2 separate regions of the Homo sapiens genome follow, and region 1 is linked to region 2. Evidence: promoter capture Hi-C in 16 types of primary human blood cells and fetal thymus (Javierre and others, 2016). All regions are on one chromosome and are shown on one strand. Each heading gives the region's core, a stretch centred on a gene start or on the middle of the fragment in contact. The rest is flanking DNA. Distances are from core to core; before and after follow the strand shown. Region 1 overlaps LOC105377509 (a long non-coding RNA gene). Region 2 holds the start of PDGFC (platelet derived growth factor C).

Region 1 (6,630 bases), core at 702-3,201, 1.0 Mb after region 2:
GCTGTCTAACCTGTAAATGTGAACATTTTACTTAACCTACTTCTCTGGCCTTCCAATAGAGACAGACTTTCCTATCAAGCAAAAATAGATCAATAAACCACACACACATACACACACACAATCAAATGCACTGACAAAAAAGCCACCCAGAAAGAATCACCAGTGCTATGCCAGAGATTTAAAATGGGTGAGGTCTAGACCACAAATGGATAGTTACTTGAAGTTGGGTGAATGTGAAGGCATCTCTGAGGAGATGACATTTAGGTTGACAGCTGAATGTCAAGATGGATCCAGCCATGCTAAGGCTAGAAGGAAGACCAGCCCAGGTAAAGGGAATGGGAATGGGTGTGCAAAGGCTCAGTGGCAGAGATAATCCTGGCAAGTTCGAGTGGGAAAAAGTAGGCCAGTGTGGTCATAGAGTAAGATGAGCCAAGGCTTTGTGGTGAGGGCCAGGAAACTGCATTTTATTCTAAGTGCAATAGGAAGCCTTCGGAGGGTTTTTAAAGATGAATAAAATCATCTAACTTACACTGTTAGGAGAATCACTTTGCTAAATGGAGAATGAATTGGAAGTGGGTGACAGTAGAAATAGAAGTATCATTATAATTCTACGGGTAGGAAATTATTGTGATTTAAAACAGAGTGTAGTAGTGAAGAAGAAAAGAAGGCGATTTCTTTGAGACTTGTGCAGAGTTAAAACTGGCGAATTGCATGCATGGGAGGGAAGAAAGAAGAACAAAGACTAAAGTCCATGATTTTAGAGTTAGGAAGCTGCTGGTTGGTGATGCCTTTATCAGGGATGGACAGAATAATGGAGGAGCCCAATCTGGGTGGAGAATGAGAGGCCAAGCACTCAGCTTCAACCCCGTGATTGTCTAGACCCACTGTGTGATTAACTCAAGCTACTCTTAGATGTCAATGACATCTCTGAACATCTATAAACCCATGGTACCTTACAAATATGGCTCTAGAGTCTAGTGCATCATCATTTTGATGATTCAGCTACTCTGAATCTTCTGTTGTTTCAGTCCTTCCATTGAGCTGCCAACACCTCCCTTTACTCACTTTACATTTCATGATACCAGTTGCTCAGGGCTTATTTTGTCCCAGGGCTTCTACTCCACACTTCTTTCTGTCTCATTTATTTTTCTTCTTCTCTACATCTTGTTTGCTGACCAACTCTGAATATTCTTATTTTAATTTTTTGAAGGTAAGTTTGATTGGTTATAGTCAGCATGTATTATCTTTCCTTCTGTATGAGATGACAGTAAGCCAGCCGGACAAGATGCAGCACACACATCATAACTACTACAAGTCTCCCAAGAGAAGTCAAGGTCAGCTTTAAACCTTGCAGACCCACAGTATATAATGCCAGCTCATGATGGTGTTAACTAAGTAAGAACTGTCCTACTCCTTCCTCAATCTTCTATACTACCCACACTGTGTCAAACACTAGAGGGGTTCAGAATGGCAACTGTTGCAGGGAAGGGATTGAAAATAGAAAAGGAAAATACCCCAATTAATATGCCTCTTTCTTATTAAGGCAACCAACTTGTAAATGGTCAGCACTGGTAAAGCAGAGTTGTTTTATCTTTGAATAATATTTATAAAGTTTTGATTATTACACTGGACATATTAATTGCTCCTTACAATATTTTTATTAATGAACATGACTGGAAAAAAATGTGGTGACTTGTCCTAAGTTTCATCCGGTGGGAAGTAAGACTGGCCGCATAGAATAATTTAAAGGAGGACAAAAATAAAGTTGTTTTATAATAACATCCCATGAGTCATGTTTGTTCAATACAACACATATATCTGCCTTAACTCTGATAATATTCAGCCTTGATATAGTATGTTCCTCTGTCTCTTCCACTGTATTTTAAACTCCTTGAGAGTATGAAGCCACCTTGCTTTCTATTTTACTGAGAAAATAGAAGCAGTCGCAAGAGAACTTCCAAAAGCTCCCACCTCCGCAGTTTTCCACTTAATTTCAGCTGGGCTTATTATCTAACCCTCCATCTCTCCTAATTTGAGTGAAGAATGCCAAATCCTACACTTGTGCGTGAGATTCCAGCACTGCTAACTGGCTCGAAGCTGTGACTTCAGCAATTCTCTATCCTGTTGCATCATTTTCCTTTCCGCTGAATCATTTCCATGCACATAAAATACATGCTTTTACTTCTCCCCTCTTAATTCTTCCCTTCTTATCCTCTCTTGAGGCAACGTCAGTCAAACTCTTACCCACTCCTCTCCATGAAATTTCTAATGAAAATATTACCAATGAGCTCTCCATTGTTAAATCCAAAGGACAAGGCTCTATATGCATATTAGACCATCTATCGAAAGCATTTAACATAGTTGATGTCAAATCCACTGCCTGGAAACTCCTTCTTCCAGGATGCCACACTCTCCTGGTTTTCCTTTCCCCATTCTGGTCTCCCCCTTAGCCTCCTTTGCTATTTTCTCTTTCTACCCAAACTCTTAAACATTGGAAAGCCTCAAACCTAAGACCGTTTCTCTGCCCTAAATATTACTCTTTCCTTTGATGATATCATCCTATCTTTGATAGTAAATATTACATAAATATACAATTCCCAAGTATTATATTTTTACTTGACTCTAGCTCAGACTGGACTTCTCAACTCTAGGTTCAAATGTTCAGTTGCTTACCCTGCATTCCACTTGGAAGTCTAATCACAAACACAAACTCTTCAAAACCAAAATCCTAACTTTTCTCCTTGATGCATTTATTTCCTTCCTCACTGCTGTCAGTGGCAACCCCATATTTCCAGTTTATCAGGCCCTAAAGCCTAGAGTTGTTCTTAATTTCTCTCTTTCACACCCACATCTATTTCATGTGCAAATCTTATAAGGTAGACCTTCATCTATTATAAAACCCAACCATATCTTACCTAACCCCTGTCACCTTGGTCCAATCCAACATCCACTCTTAACCGAGTTATTAATAACAGCATAAAGGATCACCTCCTGCTTTTACACTTTCTTCTTCTAGGTCTATTTAAAATTTTTAAGTGAATCATGGCTGGGTGTGGTGACTCACGCTTTTAATCCCAACACGTTGGGAGGTGAAACAAATGGAAGCCAAGCTCCAAGCCAGTTTGAGACCAGCCTGGGCAAGATAATGGGACCTCTTCCCTACAAAAAATAAAAAACTTAGCCAGGAATTGTGGTGCACACCTGGAGTCCCAGCTACTCAGGAGGCTGAGGCAGGAGGATAGCTTGAGCCCAGGAGTTTGAGGCTGCAATGAACCATGATTATGCAACTGCACTCCAGCTGCATGACAGAGTGAGGCATGTCTAAAATATAAATAAATAAACCAGAAGAAACTCCTGTCTTATTTTTCTTGTTTAAAATGAGTCATATTATGTCATTTCACTGCTTAAAACCTCTGATGACTTTTCCTATCATCCAAAATGACAGTCGAGGTCTTTAGAATGGTCTATAGGACCTGCATTATCTACTCTCCCCTTTTCTCCTCAAAATCATTCCTGTTACTTTCCTTCTCTCTAACTCTGCTCTAGCCACATAGACCATGTTGCAGTTCCATGTATCTGGGCCATGCTCTGGCCTCAGGGTCTTGGCACTTGGCTACTCTGGCTGAAATGGCTTTCCTTCAGATATCCTCATGGCTGGCCCCTTCACCTTGTTTGGTTTTGGTTCTACACCAGCTTCTCAGAGAATTCATCCTTAACCATGTAAGGTGGAATTACAGCTCCCACTCTGGACTCATATGTACCTGCCTCCTTTACTTTTCCCCATAGCACTCATTTCCATCTAGCATGATGTACGTAATTTTCTTGCTTATCTTTCTCTCCACTATGATGTAAGCTCTGACCACCTCAGTACCCAGTGGAGGGTCAAGTACATGGTGAGTGCTCAAAATATGTTCGAAGAGGAAATCTATGCACTCCCGTACCCCACACACATACAGTTACACCAACAGATATTTCAGAGTGTTTTACATTTAATAGATGCTTAACAAATGGTAGTTGGCTTGTAAATAATTCCATCTAGAGACTATATTATACATAGTGTATTTACCGCATTGCATGCAAACTGACTGTGAGATGAACAATGTAGCAGATCAGAATCCAGGAATAGCTACAAATTTTTTGTTTGTTTGAGATGGAGTTTGGCTTTGTCACCCATGCTGGAGTACAGTGGCCCGATCTCAGCTCACTGCAGCCTCCACCTCCTGGGTTCAAGCTATTCTCCTACCTAAGCCTCCTGAGTAACTGGGATTGCAGTTTCATGCCACCACACCCAGCTAATTTTTGTATTTTTAGTAGAAATGGGGTTTCACCATGTTGGCCAGGTTGGTCTCGAACTGACCTCAAGTGATCTGCCTGCCTCGGCCTCCCAAAGTGCTGGGATTACAGGCGTGAGTCACCACACCAGGCTGGCTACAGTTTTTATTCCTTAGGTTTACACATATTAAAAAATACTGAAAATTGCATGGGTTGTATATATCTTTCAAAAATAATAAGTTATGTAACATAAATAATAAATTACATAAAACTGTGAAATGTACTTGTGTTTATCTTGATTTCATATATTTTGGTAAACTTTTTGTTTAATTTCATTAAGAAATAGTTTAATCATCATTGCACACCATTTCAGAGTAAAATTAGGAAAACGTCTACTACAAATGGGTTTTCTGAGGGCTTGCCAAGGATTTGCAGGCAGTGGGTAACCATTCTTTCTTACCATATTTTCAAAGGAGTTTTTACTATTGCATAAATCTATAGCAGTCAATTAAATTAAAATATGGAGAAGGGTTGAATGCCTAATTACATGTTAAAATTGAAGTCTGGAAAGAGATTACATAAAGTAGTAAATAAAAGCATCACATCTGTTCAAAATAATGTTTCTAGTTTTTCCCCAGAATCACTGCGCACTTTTACTCTAAAGAAGCATAGGTTTGGCCGGGTGCGGTGGTTTATGCCTGTAATCCCAGCACTTTGGGAGGCCGAGACGGGCGGATCACGAGGTCAGGAGTTTGAGACCAGCCTGGCCCACATAGTGAAAGTCTGTCTTTACTAAAAATACAAAAAATTAGCTGGGCGTGGTGGCAGGCACCTGTAATTCCAGCTACTTGGGAAGCTAAGGCAGGAGAATCGCTTGAACCCAGGAGGCAGAGGTTGCAGTGAGCCGAGATCGCGCCACTGCACTTCAGCCTGGGCAACAGTGCAAGACTCCGTCTCAAAAAAAAAAAAAAGAAGAAGCATAGGTCTCTCTACGGCCTATCTTTCCTAGAACTTCCTTCTTTAGGTTCTGCTCTCTGTTGATATATTAGTCTGTATAAACATGTACATTGATACGTTAAATTACTTCCTATGTTGCTTTTTAAAATATTAGCAGGTGCCTCCTGAGGACTCAAAGATTTAATACACAAGATTGAAAATTAAGAGTATTTTAGGCATATTGTCAGGGAGATTATTGGAAATTCGGTGGGCAAGATAATCTTTCACCCCTCCTCTAATCACTACCCCATATTATACTCTTTTTAATAAAACATGAAAGTGTCTTCATGTTTAGCTGCAGGAGACAAATAACTTTCAGGAGTCCACCAGAGGGTGTTCATTCATTTGTTCATTTCAACTAATACTTAAAAGTTCTGTGGTTAAAGTGCTTTAGAGACCACAAAGTATTTTCATATTCTTCTTACTTAACCCTCACAACCCTCAAATTTGCAAGGATAAACATCTTGCATTAACAAATGGGAAAACTGAGACTCTCCTAAAAGTTTAAGGGATTGAGCAAAATCACACAGTTAGTTGACAGAATCATTGATACCCAAACCTATATATTCTAATGCTAAAAGTATTAGTTTCCCACAATACTTTAACTCAGCATTTCTAATATGCTAAATGTAATCGAGTCTTAAAGATGCGTAGCCATGGTTCCTACACTCCAACTACTTACAGGAGGGTGAAAATCTGTAACACATAAAAGAGCCTAACTTTTAAGAATTACAGTCAACATGATGTTGAATAACATAAAAATGTAAAGATCTTTATAATTAGCATAAATTAAGCGAACTATTGTGATTAGACATATGGAAGAACTTTACCATGTAAATGTAACTTAAAAGTCAAAAATTAGTAGAGTGACTTTCTTAAGCATATGAAATCTGCCCTTGAAAACCATAAAGAGAAAAATCTAGAACTCATCCTGGGATGAGAGTGACATGCACTTCATGGAGTCAAAAAACCTTCTAGGAAGTTTAGAGAAATCTAGTGTTTCACAATTCCAGGTGTCTTATTAACTTACCATAATTCCCTTCGGCAAATCACTTGGCAGTCAGGGTCACTGGCTCTTGAAGCTTGCAGACCAACACTGCCTGAGAAAAAGGGGTGGGAAGAAGACAACATTAAGCAACTCATCCTTGCTATTAGCCCTGCTCTGGTCCCTTGTCTATTGGCCAGTAAGAAAACAATTTCCCTATTCTTCATCCTTTTTGGATACCTATGATAGAATTGAGTCTATACTTTCATTTCCTGTAAGGCTTGAGATGAGCCTGGCTTATATCTGTCCTTTCAGAAACTGGAGTCCTCTTTCTGAACTCCAGGTAGACACTGAGATCCCATTCTCAGCTTTCACTG
Region 2 (6,305 bases), core at 971-3,470:
AGTTTAAATTCAAAGTTGAAGTCTTGAAACACCCCAATATGAAAAGGAAAAAAAATCACTCTGACTTAAAACTATAGCACATCCTATCTTAATTTTGTAGGTATGCCACTTGTGTTCATTTTGCATGGTTAATCAAGTGACAGAATCCTTGCATTCTGAATAGATGATATACAAAGCAGTAAAAACATGTATATTCCTTTTCAAATTACAGTAAGAGCCACCATTTGTAAACAGGGCGTTAAATATTCCAATTTTAGACAGCCTAACATGAACATTGTGGTTTCATGTGCAGTATAAAATTTCTATTTACAAAGTATTCTCAAAAATGACTTCATAATGGTAGATGAAGAGAAAAAGAGTTTAGAAATTGAATGATGTAAATCATATGGGTTCAGAGGCTAAGCAAATTACACACCCTGAAGCTGCCCTGGCTTTATGAAAGGAGCCTTTCTCCAGCTCTGTGCAATCCCAGCCCAAGGGAACTTGCATCTGAGAGTTTTCTAAACATTTCAGGTACACTTGAAAGCTGAAAGTAATTCTCATTTCCTATGCAGGATTAAGTCGTTTCCAGCACACACAAAATAGCAGTCATTCACCAACACATACAAAAACACACCACCAGAAAGGTAAGGACTTCAGAGTACAAAGGCAAGTTTAAAAAACAAAAACTAGGGAGCAAGAGAAATACACTTTTTAATTCCTCTAAAAACGACCACACAGCCTCTTGACCTCTATATTTCCTATCTACTCATTGATTAATTGATGACTTCGACCTAGAGTGCTTCAATTAATGCGGCTGATATATTTCCTGACCGACCCCCCTCGCCCTCCCCAAATCTGAGTAAAGTCAAACATGCCAAGGCTCATTCATTTTGGATTCGTTTTTAGAGGCAGTTCTTGAACTTCTAACTTTAGCAATGAGCGAACCTGCAATGTGCATTTGAAATGACGTTCACAATCGCTCCCAGAATGTCCTCACTCAGCAGTGGCACTCACGTTGCCCTCTTGGAGCTTTGTGGCAGCTCCCGAAGTTGCAAACTACACTTAACCTTTAACAGTCCATGCCAATGAACGCAGCGCACATTTGCATGTAATGAGAGACCAAAGATACCTTCACAGTCTGGTATATATCACATACCAACGCACAATGCCAACGTTAACACACACAGCGAGAAACAAGCAGGGGGAGAATGGGGGAAAGACTCACCGTTCTGTTCCTTGTTGCTGGAAAACTGGAATTTACTACTCAGGTTGGATTCCGCCTGAGTCCCCTGTCTCTGGCCGGCCAGGGCAGATGTCAGCAGGAGAAGCCCGAAGAGGCTCATTTGGCTGACTGGGGTGAGAGCTCACTCACGGCGGGCACTTTGGAAGCAGCGACTCCCGAGTCTCTTTCACCACCGCCAGGGGAAGGCTGCACTGGGGTGGAAGCGCCGAGCCTGCTCTGGCAGCAGAGAATCGCAGGGTAGTTTCCACATAATCCCATCCAAAACTTTTTCCTAGAGCCCTCTTCTGTGTCTCCAGTTTTTGAAAAGGATCAAAGCAAAACCTGGACCTGAACCAGTTTCCCAAGGTTTAAACAAATCCTGAGCTGTGGCGAAGTGGTGGGGGTGGGGGTGAAGGCGAGGGAGGAATGAGGGGGTGGGGACGCGGGGGAGCGGCGAGAAGTCCCCAGCAAGTTGCTGGGAGCACCTGTCAGTTCGGGGGACAGGACAGAGGCGAAAACTCAAGGGTTGCCCGCAGCCAGACTGGAAGCCAAGTCGGCGGCGAGCAGTTTCTGATCAATAACAAAGCTGCCAATAGATGCGGCTCTCCGGGCGCCCCTCTCCCCCGCCCCACCCCCCACCCCCGAAGGGGGAGGGGGAAGAAACAAGGCGAGGGCGCCGCGGCGGGTCCCACGGGCCGGGGCGCCGGAGCGGGGCCGGGGGGCTCCGGGCCGACGGCGGCCCGGGCGCAGGCGGAGAGAGGCCGCGGGGCTCCCGCTCCTCAGCCCGGAGCGCAGTTGGCCCCGGGTTCGGAGCGCCGCAGCACGGATTCCGGCACCTGGCTTGAGTTTTCCGCGACCAAAGTTCACCTTGTTCGGGCTCGTCCCCCGCTCCTCAAAGCCTGGGGCAATTCGGCCGCTCGGGGTCACCGCGGGGCTCCGGTTGTTCCCCGTCCCCTCCCCCCACGCCTCGGGCTCCGCGCTAACCTCGGGGCTACGCGCGGCGTCTCCGCACGGGGTGAAGAGGGAAGGCCGGGGCGGCCGGGAGGATCCGGCTTGTCCCCTCCCCTTCTCTACCTTCCCCCCGCCGGGCGGCAGACAGGAGGTGGGGGCCGTGGGCCGAGCCCGGGCGGAGCGCGCGCCTGGCGAGCGGGGGCGGCTCAGCGGCTCTCCCGCAGGCGGCCGATGGGGCGGGCGGGGGTCAGCGCCTCTGGGAGGGGCAGCCCTGGGACGCGTCCGCGCGAGCGGGCTTGGCCGCCCACTGGCTGTCAACAGGTGCTGCGCAGACAGGGGGTGCTGCGGGACTCGCTGTGGGCAAGACCCCGGTGGCCCAGGAGAGGAACGCGGCCAAGGCGGCCCCTGCTTTCCCTTCCACGGAACACCTCTAACCCCAAATACAGAGCACGATGGGTGGTGAAGGGTGCTGCAGAAGTAAGTGGGAAAGAACTTCCTGCAGCTCTCCTTCTCCCGCCCCCTGTCGCCTGACTTGTCATTAGTTTCCAGGAGGGCTCCCCACTCCCTAAGGTCTTTGCTAGGACCCTTGGCCAGAGTTTCAGAACAGAAGGAAGAAGGGAAATGAATTCAAAGGCTTTCCTCCAATTTCCAGCTCCGTAAAGCAGGACAAATAAAGCAAAAGTAAAGGCAGCCAAAATAACATCCATTTAACAAGTACTATATTTACTGAATGCCTACTATGTCGGGCACTGTTTAGAGGTTGGAGCCGTAGCAGTGAAAACAGACAAAAGTCCCTGCCCTCGTGAAGCATACGTAGTAGTTGGGCAGCATTAAGCTAATAGCAAGCTCTTCTGAGAATGGTGTCTAAGGGACTCAGAATGATCCTGCAACCTTGGACTTTCCTACAATACAGCCTCTAACAAAACTAGGCTGCCCTGAACCCCTGGTGATAGAATTGTTTACATTTACACCAAAAAGGTCGAGAAAGAACTGAAATCTCTTGTGGCTTGTGTTCAGGCTGACTTGGAGAGAGAGGCCGATGCTTTAAGACCTAAAGTTCTCATGAGGTAGTCTGAAATGAAACACACATGCCAAGCAGGGCTTATGGTGGTTCCATGTCTGCTAAATATGTCTGTGACAGGATCCAACGTGCTTTCTTTGTGGAGAAGCAGAAAATCATTGTCAATGTGTTAAAGGCACAAGCAGAGAGTCAGAAAAGTTGAATTTTAAAATGAAGCTATTTTTGAGTAATAATCAAAATGAAAACAAGGAAGTGCCATGGCAGGCAAATCAGCAATATCACCCAACTTCTTGTGGAAAAAAAGTCAATGCAAACAATTCGACCATCAAGAACACTTGGGCTGGAACAGAAAACCAAAATAGCAATGTCCCTGAAACTAAGGAGTGGCATTTGGGCAAGAACATATTCTTACTGGACCAAACCAGGGGCTGATCCTTCTTCAGTGGTGAGGAAAATGCCAAGCCCTCTTCTTATATGCGAACACCAACTGGGGCCAACCAACCAGACCTTTCTGCTTGGAATATCCTAGTCTTCTTGTTTTTCCCTTTTAGAAACCTTTGAAAACTTCACCCATCTGTCTCATTCTTGAAAATTTCACCCGCCTGTCTCATTCATTCATTCTTATCCCTTTACCACTTCTATCTACAGAGTACTAAATATACACTAAAGGCAAATAAGGCCTGATCTTTGACTTTAAGGCATTTACAGTTTAGTGGACAGAAGGTTTTTTATCAAGTATGGTATTTTATTCGAGTTAGCAGCTCCACAACACCAGTGTGACTCCATATTTGCATAATGTGTTCCAAAAATATTTTGTAAATTTGTGAGGGTGAAGGGTTATTCCCAATTTTAATAACATAATGGGACTTAAATAAAGGGCATGCCTTATGAATCCATTGTAATCTATTTTTCATAAAATTCATTATTCTCCAGTTTTTCTAATTTTGTAAGTTTAGTTTTCTAATCAGCACTTTTCTAAATGAAATTGTTATATGTCCATATAGTTGAGTTTCCTGACCACCCACATAGAGGTGGGGTGTGTGTGTGTGTGTGTGTGTGTGTGTGTGTGTGTGTGTCTGCAAATGTAATCCATTTGCTCTCAGGAGATTGGAAGGGTGATGACTACTCTTTATTTTGTATCATTTCATATTGGCTAGAATATTGCTTGGCACAGGGGGATAATAAATAAACACTCTTGACTGACTGACAGGTTTCTTTATTGGAGTCACTTACATTCTCCCTGGAATTTCAGTGCGATAGTTGTATTTGAAAAGTTACAGATGATCTAGAATAATACTCTACCTCTGCGTTTCACCTCATCCATATTCTACAGATTGATTTGACAATCGCCTTATAAATAAAGTCAGCCAGGTGTTCCTGAATGACCCCTAGACAAAATCACATCCACATTGGCCAATTTCCTTTCAATGTACTTGCATTGTCATTTCTTGAACTGCTCTTGCCCTTGACGTAGTTGATTCTTTTAACACATTATCCTCTGCCTGTCTTCCTGCTCTATTTTGCTTGTTAACCTTTTCTAGAAAAATGAAATCTTTGCATTGAAAGTAAATTTTATATAATCCAGAGTCTGTGCAATTACTAAACAATATATTTTAAATGAATATGGCTTTGTTTTGGCCAAAGGCATTTTCCTTGATGAAAGGCATCTGTTCCGCCAACCAAGAGAAAATAATTTCAGACATTCTTTGTGGTTTTCATGTTTTCTTAAACCTTAAGAAGGAGTGCCCATTGCTGCTGCATGCATGAAGAGTATTACCACAAATTCTTACTAAAGAATACACTTGGTGGTTAACAATGATAATTTGGGGGAGGGGGTGTCACTACTAAATGTTTTTAAGTGAAATAAGATTTTAAAGCAACCTACTCCTTTAGCTAGCCACTTAACACTCAAAGGGGCGGGAACCATGGGGACATATTTTTGCCACCAAAAAAAAAAATCTACGTTTTCTTGCTCTTTATTTTTCTGTTTTGATCCTAACACACACACACACGTGCATGCACACACACACAGAGGCATATGTGCAAAGTTATTTTAAGACTTTTCCTGGAACATTTCAGTATTTTAGTGGCAGATAATTGAGCATGATTTCCTGAAGTTCAGAAAGCTTTCTTCTACCTAAATACTCATTGTGTATTGAGAATGGCTGACAAGTAACAAATATATATATATATATATATATATATATATATATATATATATATATATATATATATGGCAGGACTGGAGATATCATTAGTAGTCAAAGTAAACGTCCACAGACCACAGCAGGAATAAAGACTGTGTTAGGAAAAAAAGAAATAAATAAATAAATGAAGTCAGTAGTCTGTCTTAGAGTCATCCTCTTCTCTTTCCACTTTTCCCACTACCTCATCTTGAGAAATACGACCTTGCTATCTCTAGGTTATGAAGATATATATCAATACTCTGTTTTTCCAACCAAGAAATGAGACACTTTTCATTACATTTTATTCTTCTAGCATCAGGTAACTTTTACCTCCCCAGTGTATCAGCTGCTAATCTGAGAAGGGTTTACCTGCTGAGGCTGAGGGTAGAGGGTTTTGCTAAGGCTCTGCTCTAGAAGAAGACACACTTTGTCAGTCTGACTTTCCTGGGGAATGGATCTGGAGGATGGGGAGTTAAGAGAAGTGTGACCTGCAGAAATGGACTTTAGTTGGCTCTCTGTGGCCTTTTCCTTTGAAGTAAAGCTGCTATTTCCTTATTGAAATCTAAGATTTTCCAAAATCTTAGAAGTGTTTGTCTGACTCTGAACTCAGAGGGAGTAACTAGCCAGAAACAGCCGTAAAGAAAGAGAAGCCCTAGTAACCTTTGAACCACCACAACAAAAGATCATTTCACTGGGAGATGGGAGGTCAGGGGCTTAGTCTGGCTTTACCACTAATAAACAGTACAACCTTGATCTAGAAATCTTCTCTGCCCCTCAGTTTCCTTTTCCTTACATGAGGAATCGCCACTGGCTTCTGTCTTGATCCCCCTACTGCTTTAGAAATTCTCTGAGCTATTATAGATAATGATGGCAAGACTTTTTCATCTTCAGTGTGCTTCTGTGATAAAAAATTACTAGCACAAGTTTCCTAGCCTCATATCAG

The links. Contacts are between HindIII fragments. The CHiCAGO score rates a contact against its expected background, and 5 or more counts as called.
Region 1: a fragment that was not itself captured here is called in contact with the fragment with the promoter of PDGFC in region 2 in 1 of 17 cell types (M0 macrophages); the score reaches 5.4 in M0 macrophages.

The regions. Positions count from the first base shown.
Region 1 is chr4:157,981,408-157,988,037 of GRCh38, forward strand. It overlaps LOC105377509 (a long non-coding RNA gene), which reads right to left. Exons shown (of 6, transcript XR_007058347.1): 2 at 6,299-6,368. Among named protein-coding and RNA genes, the nearest start is that of GASK1B-AS1, 190 kb to the right of the region's middle. The HindIII fragment of the contact is 8,793 bases long and covers 1-6,348 here.
Region 2 is chr4:156,969,579-156,975,883 of GRCh38, forward strand. PDGFC (platelet derived growth factor C) reads right to left here and starts at 2,221. Exons shown (of 6, transcript NM_016205.3): 1 at 1,208-2,221. The coding sequence starts at 1,325. RefSeq lists an enhancer at 2,008-2,508. The HindIII fragment of the contact is 8,294 bases long and covers 1-5,300 here.